Regions from separate parts of the Homo sapiens genome. Here region 2 is linked to region 1. The links are contacts of gene promoters, found by promoter capture Hi-C in human tissues and cell types (Jung and others, 2019). All regions are on one chromosome and are shown on one strand. Each heading gives the region's core, a stretch centred on a gene start or on the middle of the fragment in contact. The rest is flanking DNA. Distances are from core to core; before and after follow the strand shown. Region 1 holds the start of SEZ6 (seizure related 6 homolog). Region 2 overlaps NUFIP2 (nuclear FMR1 interacting protein 2).

Region 1 (7,333 bases), core at 1,010-3,509:
TCTGAGCTCAGGGTACAGTACTGTATTCTGGGACTTGTAGTCTCCATTGGACCCTCTAGGTTAGTTCAGGCCATAGGGAAGGTGATGTGACAAGTTCCAGGATGGCTTCTCTCCCCCTCCTTTATGTGCATAGTGCCCAGCCCATCAAGGAGCCCTGTTGCTAAGAGAGTCAGACAAGCCTGCCACCAACCTCCAAATCCCCATGAATCATCCTGGCAATACAAGATTCATCCCTAGGTCATGACTCACTCCCCTTGCCCAAGCTGCCTAGCCATGAGGGACCAGGAATACTAGAGGAGCCCAGGAATACTTTCAAGGAGGAAAAGAGGAATCTCATGACATTTGCCAGCATTTTCCTAAACTTCCCCCGGTCACACAACCTTCTACCTCTGTGTCTCTTCCCTTCCTCTGTTGGCAACTCTCTTTCTGCCTCCCCTCTTGCACCTTCTTTCCTGGCTTCCTCTCCTCACCCCTGATTCTTGCATCAGCTCCTCCTTCTTCCTGCCATCCTTCTGCTGCTGCCCTCTTTTTCCTCAGCTTCTCAAAACAACTGTCCAGAAATCCCAGCGTCTTCCTAATTCCACACGCCATCTGCCTGCTGCCTGGGACTCTTTACAGCAGTCATCACAGCTCCCCAGAGCCCACAAGAAGAGGGTCTGGAGAGAATCCAACCAGCAGAGTTGGGAGACTCTGGTCAAGAGGACCAAAACACTCTCTAAGGAACTTGAGCAGAAATTTCACCACCTGCTTCCAGGATGAGGGTCAGGAAGGACACTGGACAATGACTGGAGTCTGGAAGCTTTGGAGAGCAACCAAGTTCATGTAAAAAGAAACTAAACAAAAAACTGCCCTTCTCCCAGGGGCAATAGGGAGTTCAGCCCTCCTATTCCTCTACAGGGAATAATAACATCAGCCATAGGATCCTGTCCCATTGTACCCATTAAAGCTCTTCAAGTGAGCCCATCCATGAGCCCCTGCCTTTAAAGAGCAGCCTCAGGATGGCACAGCTGTGACTGCCCCCTTGCTGTCCTGTGACTCACTGGGGCTCCTCAGCCCAAGCAGGGCCCTGGAAAGTTATTTTTCCATGCCTTTAATAGTACAGGCTACACCCCTGGGCCTCCTTCAAGTCTCTATCTAAAACAGCCGTAGGGCACAGTGGCTCATGCCTGTAATCCCAGCACTTTGGGAGGCCAAGGCGGGAGGATCTCTTGAGGCCAGGATTTCAAGACCAGTTTGGGCAACATAATGAGACCTTATCTCTGCAAAAAATTTAAAAATTAGCCAGGCTTGGGGGTGCATGCCTGTAGTTCTAGCTACTTGAGAGGCTGAAGTGGGAGGATCTCTTGAGCCCAGGAGTTTGGGTGAGCTATTAATATAATTGTGCCACTGCATTTCCAGCCTAAGCAACAGAGACCCTGTCTCTAAAAACAATAATAAAATAAAATAAAATAACAGCTCTAGGAAACCCTCTCTCATGCCTATGCCATTTTCTCCACCAATTCCAGAAACCTGGGCAGAGATGGCATGAAGGGTCTGTATCGACTGTCACTGTGGCTTCTCTGGTCCTGCAGAGGGGCCAAGGCAGAGTCCTGGAGACCCAGGGCTACGTGGGGACCCAGGATACTACCTTCAGCTGCCCACAGCTTGGCCCAGGTTGCCTCCTGCCAAGTGAAGAATGTCTCCCCAGGATGCGAGTGCCACTGGCTTTTAACTATAATATCAGGATAATTAAGCTTTTCTGTGAGCACAGTTTGCTGCTGATGCAGCTGCCTGGAGCCCTGGCATTTATTGAGCGCAAAGTAATAATTTATTATCCTTTGTACGCTCAAAAGCCATCTTCATTATCGTCCCAAGACGGAACTGCCACAAGGGCACGCGGGCCTCACCAGCTGCCTCACTCTCGGATGTCTTCCCAGGTCACCCTTGACGCCCTCAGGTACCAGGATTGGGTGGAGAGGGGTGGGGAAAGTGTTGCTCTTTCTCATGGAGAATCAGAAGGCTACAGTGAGCTATTAATTGAGGTTCCTTAGCAGGCCGTTAACGGGAAAGAGGGTGGCATGCTTGGCTGGGGGTGGGCAGCGCAGAAGGGCAGGGGCCGTGTGCCCACATGAGTAGGGCAGTCGCGGTGGAGCGGGAGCCTGGGCTCCTGCCCCTGGGTCTCTGCGCCTTTGCATGAGACTTTACGGTAAGCCGCTCCTCCCGCGCCCCCGCCCCCAGCCCCGCTCGGCGATCCCCGGCGCCGTCGCCAGGCGCTGGCCGTGGTGCTGATTCTGTCAGGCGCTGGCGGCGGCAGCGGCGGTGACGGCTGCGGCCCCGCTCCCTCTACCCGGCCGGACCCGGCTCTGCCCCCGCGCCCAAGCCCCACCAAGCCCCCCGCCCTCCCGCCGCGGTCCCAGCCCAGGGCGCGGCCGCAACCAGCACCATGCGCCCGGTAGCCCTGCTGCTCCTGCCCTCGCTGCTGGCGCTCCTGGCTCACGGTAAGGGACCCCGGCATCCGGCGGCAGGACGGGGGCGGGAGCGGGGCCCCAGGGGTGGGAAGGGAGACCCGGTGCCCAGCTTCGGGCATCTGGCTGCCCAGTCCAAGCACCGCGCCCCGCCGGCTGCGCTGCCCCCGGCGCCGGCCAAGCCGGGCGGGGCGCGGGCTTCGCGGGCGGGAAGCTGCCGCGGCTCCCGCCATTCGCGCCCGGCCGAGACCTCGTCTTTAATCATCTCCCCAGATCTAATGGGATTTCTCTGATGCAATTCATCACGCCACCCACTCCCCGCACACACGCGCTCACCCGCGCGCTACCTCGCCACACTCTAGGCATCTCAGGGTGCTGGGGCGCGTGCCGGGGGGCGCAAGGCAGTGAGTCGGGACGGTCCAGCTGGCGGCCCGTGGTCCCGCTTCCCCTGCCGCCCGCCAAACTTCGCTCGACTTTGCCGCCGGTTCCAGGGCCTCTAGTGTTCTTACTGAGGGGAGACGGGGCCGGATGGCGGCCGGACCCGGGGTTGGGACCTCGCTCACCTCCCCATGCCCTGGCGCTGCCACGCCAGAGTCGGGACCTAGAGCACAATTCTAGAGAGAAACTCCAAGGGCCTGGACCCCCTATCTGGCTCCTGGCTCTGCCCTCGGCTGCAGCAGCGGAGATCCTGGGATAGAGACTCTGTCCTCCCCAAAGTCCTTTCCTTGTACACACACACACACACACACACACACACACACACACACACCACTGCCCCGAGCTCTGCCTCCCTCCCGGCCTGCCTTCCTGCCCGGCCCTGGTCCACTCCCCACCTGCAAGGCAGATTTGTCTCTGGAGGACCTGTTCCCCACACCCTGAGAATCCCCGCGCCCCCTCTAGGAGTCTGGTCCCCAACTTCGTCGGTCTTGGGTAGAGGGAAGCTTGGCCATGGTGTGAGCGGCAAGGGAGTGTTGGGGAGAGGATAGGGGTTCCGTGCCTCGGGGAAGAGTCTTGTCTGGACCTGCCGTCCTGGCTCAAACAAGCTCTCATGGAAGCTACTGGCACCCACGTCCTTCTCCCGCTGCAGTAGGCTGGTAGGGTCGGCAGAACCGCACTTGGAGTTGAGACCTGCCATCCCTTGCCATATGGTTTGAAGGGCCTGATGTGAAGTGTGAGGGTGGGAGTTTCTAACCTCCCTGCTCGATCTTTCCAGGCCGCTGCCGAGGTCAAGGCAGCGCGGCCAGGGACAGGCTGGGCCCCCGGACGGCAGTTTTCTTCATCCAGGAAGAAAAACTGTGGCCCCGGAGACGCAGAAGCCTTTTTCTGAGCCTCTAGCTCCACTTGCACACAGCCCAGTGTCCTCACCCCGCTACCGGGCTGCCCATGCTGGATCCTCCGGCAGCGCCCAGAACTTGAAACCGTGTGCTCACGTTCTGGGGAGAGGGGAAGAGTCCTGCAAGACCCACCCCAGGGATGAAGACCGGGAAGGAGAAGTGTGAATCCCTGCCTAGCTGCCTGGGGATGTCCCTAGGAATTCCGAACCTATCTTGGGTCCTGATGGGTCCTGGCGCTGGACAGCTCCCCTGGGGCGCAGGGCCTGTGTCTGTCCCCTGGCAGTTAGTCAAGGCCTTGTGTGTGAGTTTGTGGGTCTGAATGTGAGAGTAATCAGGGCCCTGCATGACTAGAGGAGCCAGTCCCAGTGTGTCTGCACTTCAAGTGGTCCGAATCTTGGGTGAGGGGTCAGCAGTGAATGGGTGTGAGGACTGTGTGAGGCCACTAGTGTGTGGGTGCAGCCTCAGCCAGAGAGCTCCCTGCAGGGCTAGAGTGAGACTGTGGGAATCCAGGAGGAAGGCTGGTGTGGCCAGGAGTCCCACCAGCCCTGATGGGGATGTGGGTGTGAGTGTTAGGAGGAATCTGCTCACTCTGTGGCCTCAAGTCTGTGTGTCCCTGGGCAGTGTCCCTTCCTGACTATCAGGATCTCCAGTGCCCATGGAGGCACCTGCCAGTGGGATATGTGGGGTAGGAGTCTGGCTGTTGGGAAAGACCTCTATTTTCACTCCCCAAGGGAGACGAAGAGGCAGCCCCGAAGTGCCAAGCCTGAGGATGAGAGGGCTGGGATGTCAGAGCTGGGTAGCCAGAGGCTCCTCTCTCCTCGGCTGGACTGGAGGTCCCAACCATTGGGATAGTGAGTCATCTCAGTGGGGAGCAGCGCATTTGGCCATCCCGGGGTTCCTGGGCACTTTAGCTTTGTGAAGGCGAGCCTAAAGGAGCAAAGACCTCAGGCTATGAGCCTTTTCGGCCCGAGGGGTGCATCCCTCAGCCTTTCAGCCCCGCCACCTCTCTGATGAGGCCCTCAGAGCTTTGCTCATAGGCAGGATGCAGACTGCAGGATGTAGCCAGGCACGGCCCAGATGCCTTGGAAGGCCTGGTATGCCGAGGCTGCGGAGGTAGGGCAAAATCGTGCTGGGCTTGGCCCAAGCTCACAGGCTCAGTCCCCTATTCCCTTCTGCAGCCTCCAAGTCTTGATTGGCGTCAGGCATCAGGGGCGTCTTGGGCCACGGGGTATCTTCCCAAGCTGTGTGGGGTGCCTGGGCCATCCAGCCACAGTGGAGGAAAAAGCGGTGTTGAAGGGGCTGCGTGTGCCGAGCCTGCTGTGTCAGTTTAATGATTTTTAATGAGCAATTACCTTTAGTCATTCTCCTAATTTCTGAATATCAATAAAGTTAATTAAACTCTGCATGTGTGAATGTGGCCTAGGGAGATTATGAAGGTGGAAGCCGCTGAGACTGGGGTAAGGTTGGGTCTCAGGAATGGAGGCTGCCTCCATGGCTGTGTGACCTTGGACCTGCTGCTCCACCTCTCTGAGCTCCACTTGAGAATGTGGTGATAGAGGGGGCCTGGGGATGGCTAGTCTGGGTTACTCACTCTGCCAAGAACTGAGGGATGATGTCTGGAAGGGAAGGTCTGGAGGAGAAAAGAGAGGAAGGACGACTCAGCTTCCAGGAGCCCTAGTGCTGCAAGGGTTAACAAACGAGGGCTGCCTTAACCTAAAATGGTAATTGCTGCTTCCTGCAGACTCCTTGGTAGGTGCTGGATTCTAACAGCACATCCATGAGTCTGGGGGCTGCTGCTGAAACCAATACTAGGTCCTGTTCCTTGTCCCCAGCCTGGCACTTCGGGATCAGGAAGTGGTACTGGGGACAAGGCCCCATGGGAGACAGTCCAGATTCTGTTCAGAAACCCAGAGGTTGACATGGCAGGCAGGAGCACACCCCCACCCACCAGCCCCGGGCTTCCAAGGAGGCTGGAGGACCCAGAGACTGCCATGGACAGGAGAAGCCTGAGTTGGCTTTTTGCTCCTCATAGGTCTAAGCTTGGCAGGCCCTGGCGGCCATCCTGGCCTCCTCAGCAGGGTGGCCGCTTAAAATGCCTTGGGGACACTGTGGGGCACTAATGGAGAGCAAGGAGACACAAGGGCTGGGCTTAATTAGAAACTGAGCTTCCATTCCCCACCAGTACTACCATGCCTGCCTAAATATGGGGAGCATATCAGAAAGCCTGCTTCCTTAGCCCCTCCATCCATCCAGTTCCAGGCCCTCCAGCTTCCTGTGCTCCTTGTCCCCACCTATCCTAGCCCAATTAAGCCCCATCTGCTGGGCTGGGATCAGCTCAGGAATGCTGTGCCCCCACCTGGGCAGAGCTGTCATGGCTCAGCACTCTACCAACCCCACCCCTACCCCCACCAAAAAAAAAAAAAAAGAAGAAAGAGGGTGCAGAAAAGGGCCTATTAGGCAGGAGTTACATTAGTGAAGGAACTTCTCAATCCAGGTGGTTAAGAACCCAGGCTCCCATGTGATCTCACATATACCCCTGTCCTCTCTGGGCCTCCACTCTCTGGAGCCTTCAATGGAAGTTGCCATGCCTTATAGCACAGGAGAGCCTCAAAGTTCTTGTCAAGTCATGCAGATTTCTGGGTCCCCAGCTTACTGGCCTATTCTCAGGGAGGAGGAGCCAGGTTCTATACAGAAGAGGTTTCTGGCGGAGACTATGCTGCCAGCACTGGTCTGCAGCTGGGTGGTGGGAAGCAGGCACTAGGAGGTCTCCAAGACCAATTCCAACAGGAAGTGGCAATTCCAGGAAGCCGACCCACCCAGCCAGGCCAAAGGAGTTTTAGCTTCAGTTTTCCAAATTAGCCAAGTCAAATGAACCAAGTTCTCAACAGCTTTTGGGCTCTTATCAGCCTTTCTGCCTGAAATTCCTTTCCCCTCCCGGACCAATCTGGCTCACTCTACCTCACGCTTCAAGTATTAGCTTAGCTGACACTTCCTGTAATTCTCCAGTACCTATTTAAGGAGCATCTACTACATGGTTCCTCAGGGGAGCCAGGCCTGTCCTCCAGCCTGGGTCAGAGGACTCTTCTGTGCTCTCACCATCCCTTGGCTTCCCCCATCCAGGTCCCCATCTTGCTAGGTCACAAGTCCCTGGTTGCTTGATGCTCCAGCAGCAAAACTAAACTCAACAAAGATGATCCCAAGTCTGTTTTGTTCACCCACTATGTCTTGGGGAAGCTCTAGAATTCCTGTTTGGGAGAAGTTTAGGGTCAGCTGCTTGGTTAGAAAGGGGAGGCGGGCCTATGGCAGCTGGGACCGAATCTTGAAGCTGAGTTTGCGTAGCAAGCATGCTATTTTTACATAGATTGTATGTTAGAATTTTTTTCCTTTCCTAACAGTTGGCCAATTATCCCAACTGTAAATTACAGCCTTTACTTCGTTTTTTCCTTCTACAAATTAAGCTGTCACGCCATCAGCCTGAGGTGGCTCAGGGATAGGGTGCTGATGGCCATTCTGAATGGGCTAAAGCCTCTCCCCAGTCACCCCTTAGTGCCACCA
Region 2 (7,777 bases), core at 3,724-6,223, 280 kb before region 1:
AGGCTTACGAGCTGGAGAAACGGACTAGTCCTCAAGTTCTGGGTAGCATTCTAAAATCTGGGACTACTAGTGAGAGTGGAGCCTTATCCTTGGAACCCAGTCATATAGGTGACCTGCAGAAAGCAGACACCAGTAGTCAAGGTGCTTTAGTGTTTCTCTCAAAGGACTACGAGATAGAAAGTCAAAATCCTCTGGCCTCTCCTACGAACACTTTGTTAGGCTCTGCCAAAGAACAGAGATACCAGAGAGGCCTAGAAAGGAATGATAGCTGGGGTTCTTTTGACCTGAGGGCTGCTATTGTATATCACACTAAAGGTAACTCATTTGTTTCCTATACAAAGATTTTTATTGGCCAATTTAGTATATTGTTTATATTAAGAGAATTTTAAGAGAATTAGTTGTTCATATTAAGAGTATTTTAAGAGAATGACAATGTGGATAAGCAGCTGGTGTCAAACTAATTCAGGGTCCTTGGAACTAGTATGATTAAAATTTAGAAGAAATGTTCACTTTTCCAACTTAAAAGGATTTTTAAAAATACAAACATAATTGACCTACCTGGTTCAAAGAACAGAAGTGAGGAGAACTTGCTTAAAGGTATTGATGTTATATTTTCTCTTGACTGAGTGCTTGAAAAAAAATTTTATTGAACATATGTTCTCCTTCCGTGGCTTTTTTGTCTTTGCTTTTTTGTTTTGTTTTGTGTTTTTTTTCTTTGAGATGGAGTCTCACTCTCTTGCCAGGCTGGAGTGCAGTGGCGTAATCCCGGCCCACTGCAACCTCCACCTCCCAGGTTCAAGTGATTCTCCTGCCTCAGCCTCCTGAGTAGCTGAGATTACAGGCACGCACCACCATGCCCGGCTAATTTTTGTATTTTTAGTAGAGACGGGGTTTCACCATGTTGGCCAGGATGGTCTTGACCTCTTGACCTTGTGATCCACCCACGGCCTCCCAAAGTGCTGGGATTACAGGTGTGAGCCACCACACCCATTTGCTTATTTGTTTTTGAGACAGAGTCTCACTCTCTCACCCAGGCTGGAGTGCAGTGGTGTGATCTTGGCTCACTGCAACCTCCGCCTCTTGGGTTCAGGTGATTCTCCTGCCTCAGCCTCCCGAGTAGCTGGGATTACAGCCATGCGCCACCACGCCCAGCTAATTTTTGTATTTTCAGTAGACACGGGTTTCCCCGTGTTGGCCAGGCTGATCTCAAACTTCTGACCTCGTGATCCGCCCGCCTCTGCTTCCCAAAGTGCTGTGATTACAGGTGTGAGCCACCGTGCCCAGCCTCTCCTTTGCTTTTTATATCATATGCGTCTTTAATAGTGAGCTCATTTAATAGTTCTAATTTGATTAAAATGAGTAGAAGCACTGTTTTTGAAGAGGAGACTGATAAGTCTTGGAGTAATGGATGCCAGTTTGTAACTGGAAAATAAGTTAGACAAATCACAGTGTCAAGTATGATTAGCATAGTTGAGACCAGGCTCTTGGGATTCTCCTTTTCATAGCCCTAAAGCCCAAGTTTAAAGGGAACCAGGTATCTTTCAAGTTTCACGCTAATAACTTTCTTTTCTTTTTTTTCTTTTTTTTTTTTTTTTTTTTTGAGATGGAGTCTTACTCTTGTCACCCAGGCTGGAGTGCAGTGGCGCAATCTTGACTCACTGCAACCTCCGCCTCCCGGGTTCAAGTGATTCTCCTGCCTCAGCCTCCCACGTAGCTGGGATTACAGGTGCCCACCACCACGCCTGGCTAATTTTTATATTTTTAGTAGAGATGAGGTTTCACCGTGTTGGCCAGGCTGGTCTCAAACTCCTGACCTCAGGTGATCCACCCACCTGGGTCTCCCAAAGTGCTGGGATTACAGGTGTGAGCCACCGTGCCAGGCCTCATGTTAATCACTTTCTTAGAATGTGGTTTGTTTGTGTCTTAAAGAAAAATTCGCTGTATGGCATAACTGTAATCTAAATCCTTAGAGCAAATAATGAGGTTTAACGATGATGTTTATATCCTTTTGCTTTTGAGAACAGTGGGTTTCAGTCTTCCCATCTTTCCTACCTCTTCCTCCTTTCTCTAACAGAAATGTATGCTCCATGCATGCATGTACACACTTAATACATAGTGCACATTCCCATTTTAACAGTGGCTCATTTAGGCAGTGACTTACAATTGCAGGGAAAGGGGACCATACCAGATTGTGGGAATTGGGTAATTACCATATTCTCTCTGGAAGAAATACTGCCTCAGGGATGAATAACAAAGTGATTTGTGACTTCTAAGCAAATTTCCTAGTCTGCATACGTTTCCTTATCTGCAAGCTGGAAGACATTGAGTATAATAAATAGATGTCCTTTTAATATCATTTTACTTCCTTAAAAATGGAAGTAGTAGAATTGCTTAATGGAAGTTTAGGAATCCTCACAGATAACATTTACCTGATTTCACTTATTCTCCAGCTCTGCTCTTTGAAGGTAAATACAGGAGTTGGTTGTTTTTAGCAATGTTAGGGCAAAAAGATAAATGCTTCGTTTTTTAAGACATGTGTTATACATTAGTTAACCTCTGCCAGGAGAGTTGGGTTTTTTGGTATTGTTTTCTGTGCCGTCTGCCCTCTAGAGACTATTACTGGAAAATGTTTACCGAAGTATTTTGCACTGGCGATCATTGTGTGAGCCTGAGAGGGTATCTGGTTGTGTTGTGTTCTCTTACCACCTCCAAAATATTCTGGGAGGCCCAGTGTGGTGGGTCATGACTGTAATCCCAGCACTTTGGGAGGCCGAAGTGGGAGGATCACTTGAGCTCAGGAATTTGAGACCAGCCTGGGCAACAATGTGTAGTCCCAGCTACTTGGGAGGCTTAGGAGGGAGGATCACTTGTCCCTGGGAGATCCAGGTCTGCAGTGAGCTATGTTTGCACCACTGCACTCAGGCCTGGGCAACAGAGTGAGACCGTGTCTCAAAACAAAACAACAAAATGTGTAGGATATGTTCCATTAGGTAACTGGTTAATAGTTCTTATGTACAATTTCTATTAGGTGGAATTGCAGGCCATTTTTAAATTGGAATGTTAACCTGAATTTACTCTTTATGCATTTTCCCTATCCATGGGCTAGCTGAATATGAAATCAGTGGTATTTATATAAGCTGAATACCCCTATATGGGTGCAGTTATATTTAGTTTTGCTGGTATTAATGAAAAAATTTGCTGTAGGTAAAGTGTCATCTTGAGTTCTGTATTTGGACATGATTGGAAATTAATCAGATTGGCATCAAAATTTTTACCCCTCTAGAACAATAAATAATACTCAGTTCAATTGGGTTCCAGAGTAGCAAGTTCTTTGAATTCCTGCCAAATGTTGATTGGTCCATTAGCAGTCCATTGGCCACTCATTTTTCTTTACTTGAATTATATTTGGAGATCTTTTATAAGTGAAGCCTTTTTTTTTTAAAGTTAACTCTAAAAGAAGTAATAATCAGTTGGGCTACTGGAATATCCTTTAAGAACATCTGTATTATTTTCTTTGTGCTTTAGTGTAGTTTTCAGATGTTCAGTAGTAATCTCTAAGTGAGTAGTTGAAGTTGGGCTTAGAATTGGAAGTTCTCTGCATTTCTCCTGACTTCAAAAATAAGCCCTTCAGCAACTTAATTTGGAAATAGTGGGTAAGAGAGTGCGTTATGTCACTTCTTTAAGAATGGTGCACTATTTATTTAACTTATATAAAGAAAGGTGTTTTTATTTTGTTTTTTGGTGGTTTTTTTTTTTTTTGAGATGGGGTCTTGCTCTGTTGCCCAGGCTGGAGTGCAGTGTCACAGTCTTGGCTCACTGCAACCTCCGCCCCCTGGGTTCAAGCGATTCTCCTGCCTCAGCCTCCTGAGTAGCTGGGATTACAGGTGCACGCCACCATGCCTGGCTAATTTTGTATTTTTAGTAGAGACAGGGTTTTACCGTGTTGGTCAGGCTGGTCTCCTGACCTCATGAGCCACCTGCCTTGGCCTCCCAAAGTGCTGGGATTACGGGTGTGAGCCACTGCACCCAACAAAGAAAGGTGTTTATTTGACTCAAGGTTTTGGCGGCTGGGAAGTCCAAGTGCATGGCGGCAGCTTCTGGCAAGGGCTTTTTTTAATACAGGAAGTTTTTAGATTAAGCAATTACTTGGAACCTTAAGCGTACTATGGATTTTTAAAAATTTGAGTGTTAAGTACAATTGAGGGTATGAAGTAAAGATACAATAGAGCATAAAAAGGGGATTTGTGCTGGGTGCGGTGGCTCACGCCTGTAATCCCAGCACTTTGGGAGGCCAAGGAGGGTGGATCACGAGGTCAGGAGATCGAGGCCATCCTGGCTAACAGTGAAACCCCATCTCTACTAAAAATACAAAAAATTAGCCGGGCGTGGTAGCAGGCACCTGTAGTCCCAGCTACTTGGGAGGCTGAGGCAGGAGAATGGCGTGAACCCGGGAGGTGGAAGTTGCAGTGAGCTGAGATCGTGCCACTGCACTCCAGCCTGGACGACAGAGCAAGGCTCCTTCTAAAAAAAAAAAGGGTGGGGGGTGGCGGGATTTGTGTGGATTCTAATTCCTTGTGTGGGATTTTCCTTTTAGCTGTTTTTTTTTTTTTTTTTTTTAAAGAGACAGGATCTCATTGTCACCCAGGCTGGAGTGCAGTGGCACTATCGTAGCTCATTGCAGCCTGGAACTGGGCTGAAGCTCTCCTCCTTCCTCAGCCTCCTGAGTAGCTAGTACTACAGGTGTATGCCACCATGCCTGGCCTCTTTTAGCTTTTTATATAATATGTTATGCCATTAACTTTTCTCTTTTTTTTTGAGACAGGGTGTTGCTGTGTTGTTGAGGCTGGAGTACAGTGGTGTGGTCATAGCTCACTGTAGCCTTGAGCTCCTGGGCTCAAGTGATCCTCCTGCCTCAGCCTCCTGAGTAGCTGGGACCACAGGTGTGCACCGCAATGCCCAGCTAATTTTTTTATTTTTATTTTTTTGAGATGGAGTCTCACACTGTCGCCCTGGCTGGCGTGCAGTGGCGTGATCTCGGCTCACTGCAACCTCCGCCTCTCAGGTTCAAGTGATTTCTCCTGCCTCAGCCTCCCTAGTAGCTGGGATTACAGGCATGAGCCACCGTGCCCGGCTGCCCAGCTAATTCTTGTATTTTTTATATATGTATATATACATATAGTGACGGTGTCTGTGTATTTTACCCAGGCTGGTCTTGAACTCCTGGCCTCAAGGGATCCTCCTGCCTCAGCCTCCCAAAGTGCTAGGATTACAGGTGTGGGCCACCATGCCTGTCCTAACTTTTCTTTTCCTTTCTTTTTTTTGGAGACGGAGCCTCACTCTGTCACCCAGGATGGAGTACAATGGTGCGATCTTGGCTCGCTGCAACCTCTGCCTCCTGGGTTCAAGCGATTCTGCCTCAGCCTCCCGAGTAACTGGGATTACAGGCATGTACCACCGTGCCCGGCTAATTTTTTTGTATTTTTAGTAGAGACGGGGTTTCGCCATGTTGGCCAGACTGGTCTTGAACTCTTGACCTCAAGTTCTCCGCCCACCTCCGCCTCCGAAAGTGCTGGGATTACAGGCATGAGCCACCACACCTGGCTGTGATGGCTCTTTTTTAAGAGACAGGGTCTCACCCTGTGACTCAGGCTGGAATGCAGTGGTATGATCCTAGCTCACTGCACCCTTGAACTCCTGGGCTTAAGGAATCCTCCCGCCTCAGCCTCCTGTGTAGCTGGGACCATAGGTTTGCGCTACCACCCATGTTGTCTGGGCTGGTCTGGAATTCCTGCCCTCAAGTGATCCTTCTGCTTCAGCCTCCTTAAGTATTGGGATTACAGGCATGAGCCACCATGCTTAGCTTGTGATGGCTCTTAGTGTACATACCTGGGACATATAACTGTGCCTTCTTAAAAGTAGTTATCTCAGAATGCTTAGCAAGCCTCTCTTTGACTTGACTTTAAAAGCTTTGAACACTAGATCCTAACTTTTTGAAGTAAACTTTTGATTTTGAAATGGTTGAAAGTCATTTGAAGCCAAGTCTTTGGAAATAATAATTGATATGAGTTGTGTGTTTGGTCACAGTGCCAATTTAAACTGGGTTGATCTGTCTTACATGGCTGTTATGGCACTGAAGGATATGAAGCATTTGAAATGCTGACATTTTGGAATATTCATTTAAAAATAGGCTGGGGCCGGACATGGCTCACACTTGTAATCCCAGCACGTTGGGAGGCTGAGGCGGGTGGATCACCTGAGGTCAGGAGTTTGAGACCAACCTGGCCAACATGACGAAACCCCATCTCTATGAAAATACAAAAATTAGCCAGGCATAGTGGTGCAGGCCTGTAGTCTCCGCTAATTGGGAGGCTGAGGTGGGAGAATCGCTTGAATCTGGGAGGTGGAAGTTGCAGTGGGCTGAGATCACACCACTGCACTCTATCCAGCCTAGGAGACACAGCAAGACTTCACCTCAAAAAATGAAAATAAAAATAGTCTGGGTACTGTGGCTCTTGCCTATAATCCTAGCATTTTTGAAGTGAGGCAGGAAAATCACTTGAGCTCAGGAGTTTGAGATCAGCCTGGGCAACATAGCAAGTCCTGATTTCTACAAAAAAATTTGAAGCATTAGCTGGGCATGGTGGCATGTGGAGGCTGAGATGGAGGATATCACCAAGCCCAAGAGGTCAAAGATGCAGTGAGCCATAATCGTGCTGTTGCACTCAAGGTTGTGCAACAGAGTGAGACCCTGTCTCAAAAACATACAACAGTTGGTATTAAGCAATTACTTACAGATCTGTGTTGAGGTAGATTAATATGGCACCAATTTGGGTAGACTGGAAGCCATTTTTCTGTTGACTAGAAGATCAGTTTCTTGGAATAGTGCAGGCAGAGGTATAATAAAGGTCTTCTGCTTTGTATTTTCAACCATGTAAATGATCTGAATTTTAAAAAAAATTTTTTAAAAAGCTTTTAGATTGGGAAAGGGCATAAGGGAACAGATAAGATTACATAACAAGATTTGGGAAACAGGATATGAAGAGACAAATTATGATTAATCCATAAAATTGACAAGGACTAGGTGTACAGTTTGGACATTGTTCAGAGAAGGATCTGAATATTAAATTTTCTCTTCTAAACACAATGTGAATAAGTATTTTCACGTTTACTGCATTTCATTGCAATTGCTTCCTGAATGCCTATTTGACATCACAGCTGTCTTTCTAATAATCTTATTAATGTGTGCCTGCAAATTTGACAGTTTTAAGATTTGCCTTGGTTTTAGCCCTGGTTGGATTCCCTAGATTTGGAAAGGGTACTTGTTTATGAGGATATAATGATGTGGGACATATAGTAATGAATATAACAAATAATTCCTAATATGGGATAAGGTCCCCTTTCTCCCAGTGAGAGAACTCATACTGGCTGTTTAGTACCCATACTGACTGCTTGATGTTTCATGATGTCTGCTTTATGAATACAGTAATAATATATTCACCTTGATACTGGTGAAAGATCACTTGTAAGGAATTTTTGGAAGTTAAAATTTAACTTCCAGATTTCACTAGCTTAAGTCCTGAGTGTGAGGGAAATAACCATCTATGCTGTAAGAAGAGCAGACACTGTTACTATAATGATAGTAGCAAAACCAGAAATTGTTTATTACTATCATAGTAGTAGCAGTTTCATTCCAAGCTATTACTATCATAGTAGTAGCAGTTTCATTCCAAGCAACTTTTACCCTTATAAAGCACATGGGGGGCCGGGCGTGGTGGCT

The links. Contacts are between HindIII fragments. The study calls those that stand out against the background at their distance.
Region 2: a fragment that was not itself captured here is called in contact with the fragment with the promoter of SEZ6 in region 1 in 2 of the 25 tissues and cell types used here (dorsolateral prefrontal cortex and hippocampus).

Annotation. Positions count from the first base shown.
Region 1 is chr17:29,000,959-29,008,291 of GRCh38, reverse strand. SEZ6 (seizure related 6 homolog) reads left to right here and starts at 2,259. Exons shown (of 17, transcript NM_178860.5): 1 at 2,259-2,477. The coding sequence starts at 2,423. The region is part of intron 2 of LOC105371716 (a long non-coding RNA gene); the gene reads right to left. RefSeq lists a silencer at 2,313-2,496 and enhancers at 3,847-4,471, 4,472-5,098. The HindIII fragment of the contact is 3,335 bases long and covers 1,267-4,601 here.
Region 2 is chr17:29,278,530-29,286,306 of GRCh38, reverse strand. NUFIP2 (nuclear FMR1 interacting protein 2) reads left to right here. Exons shown (of 4, transcript NM_020772.3): 2 at 1-315. Among named protein-coding and RNA genes, the nearest start is that of NUFIP2, 12 kb to the left of the region's middle. The HindIII fragment of the contact is 8,027 bases long and covers 960-7,777 here.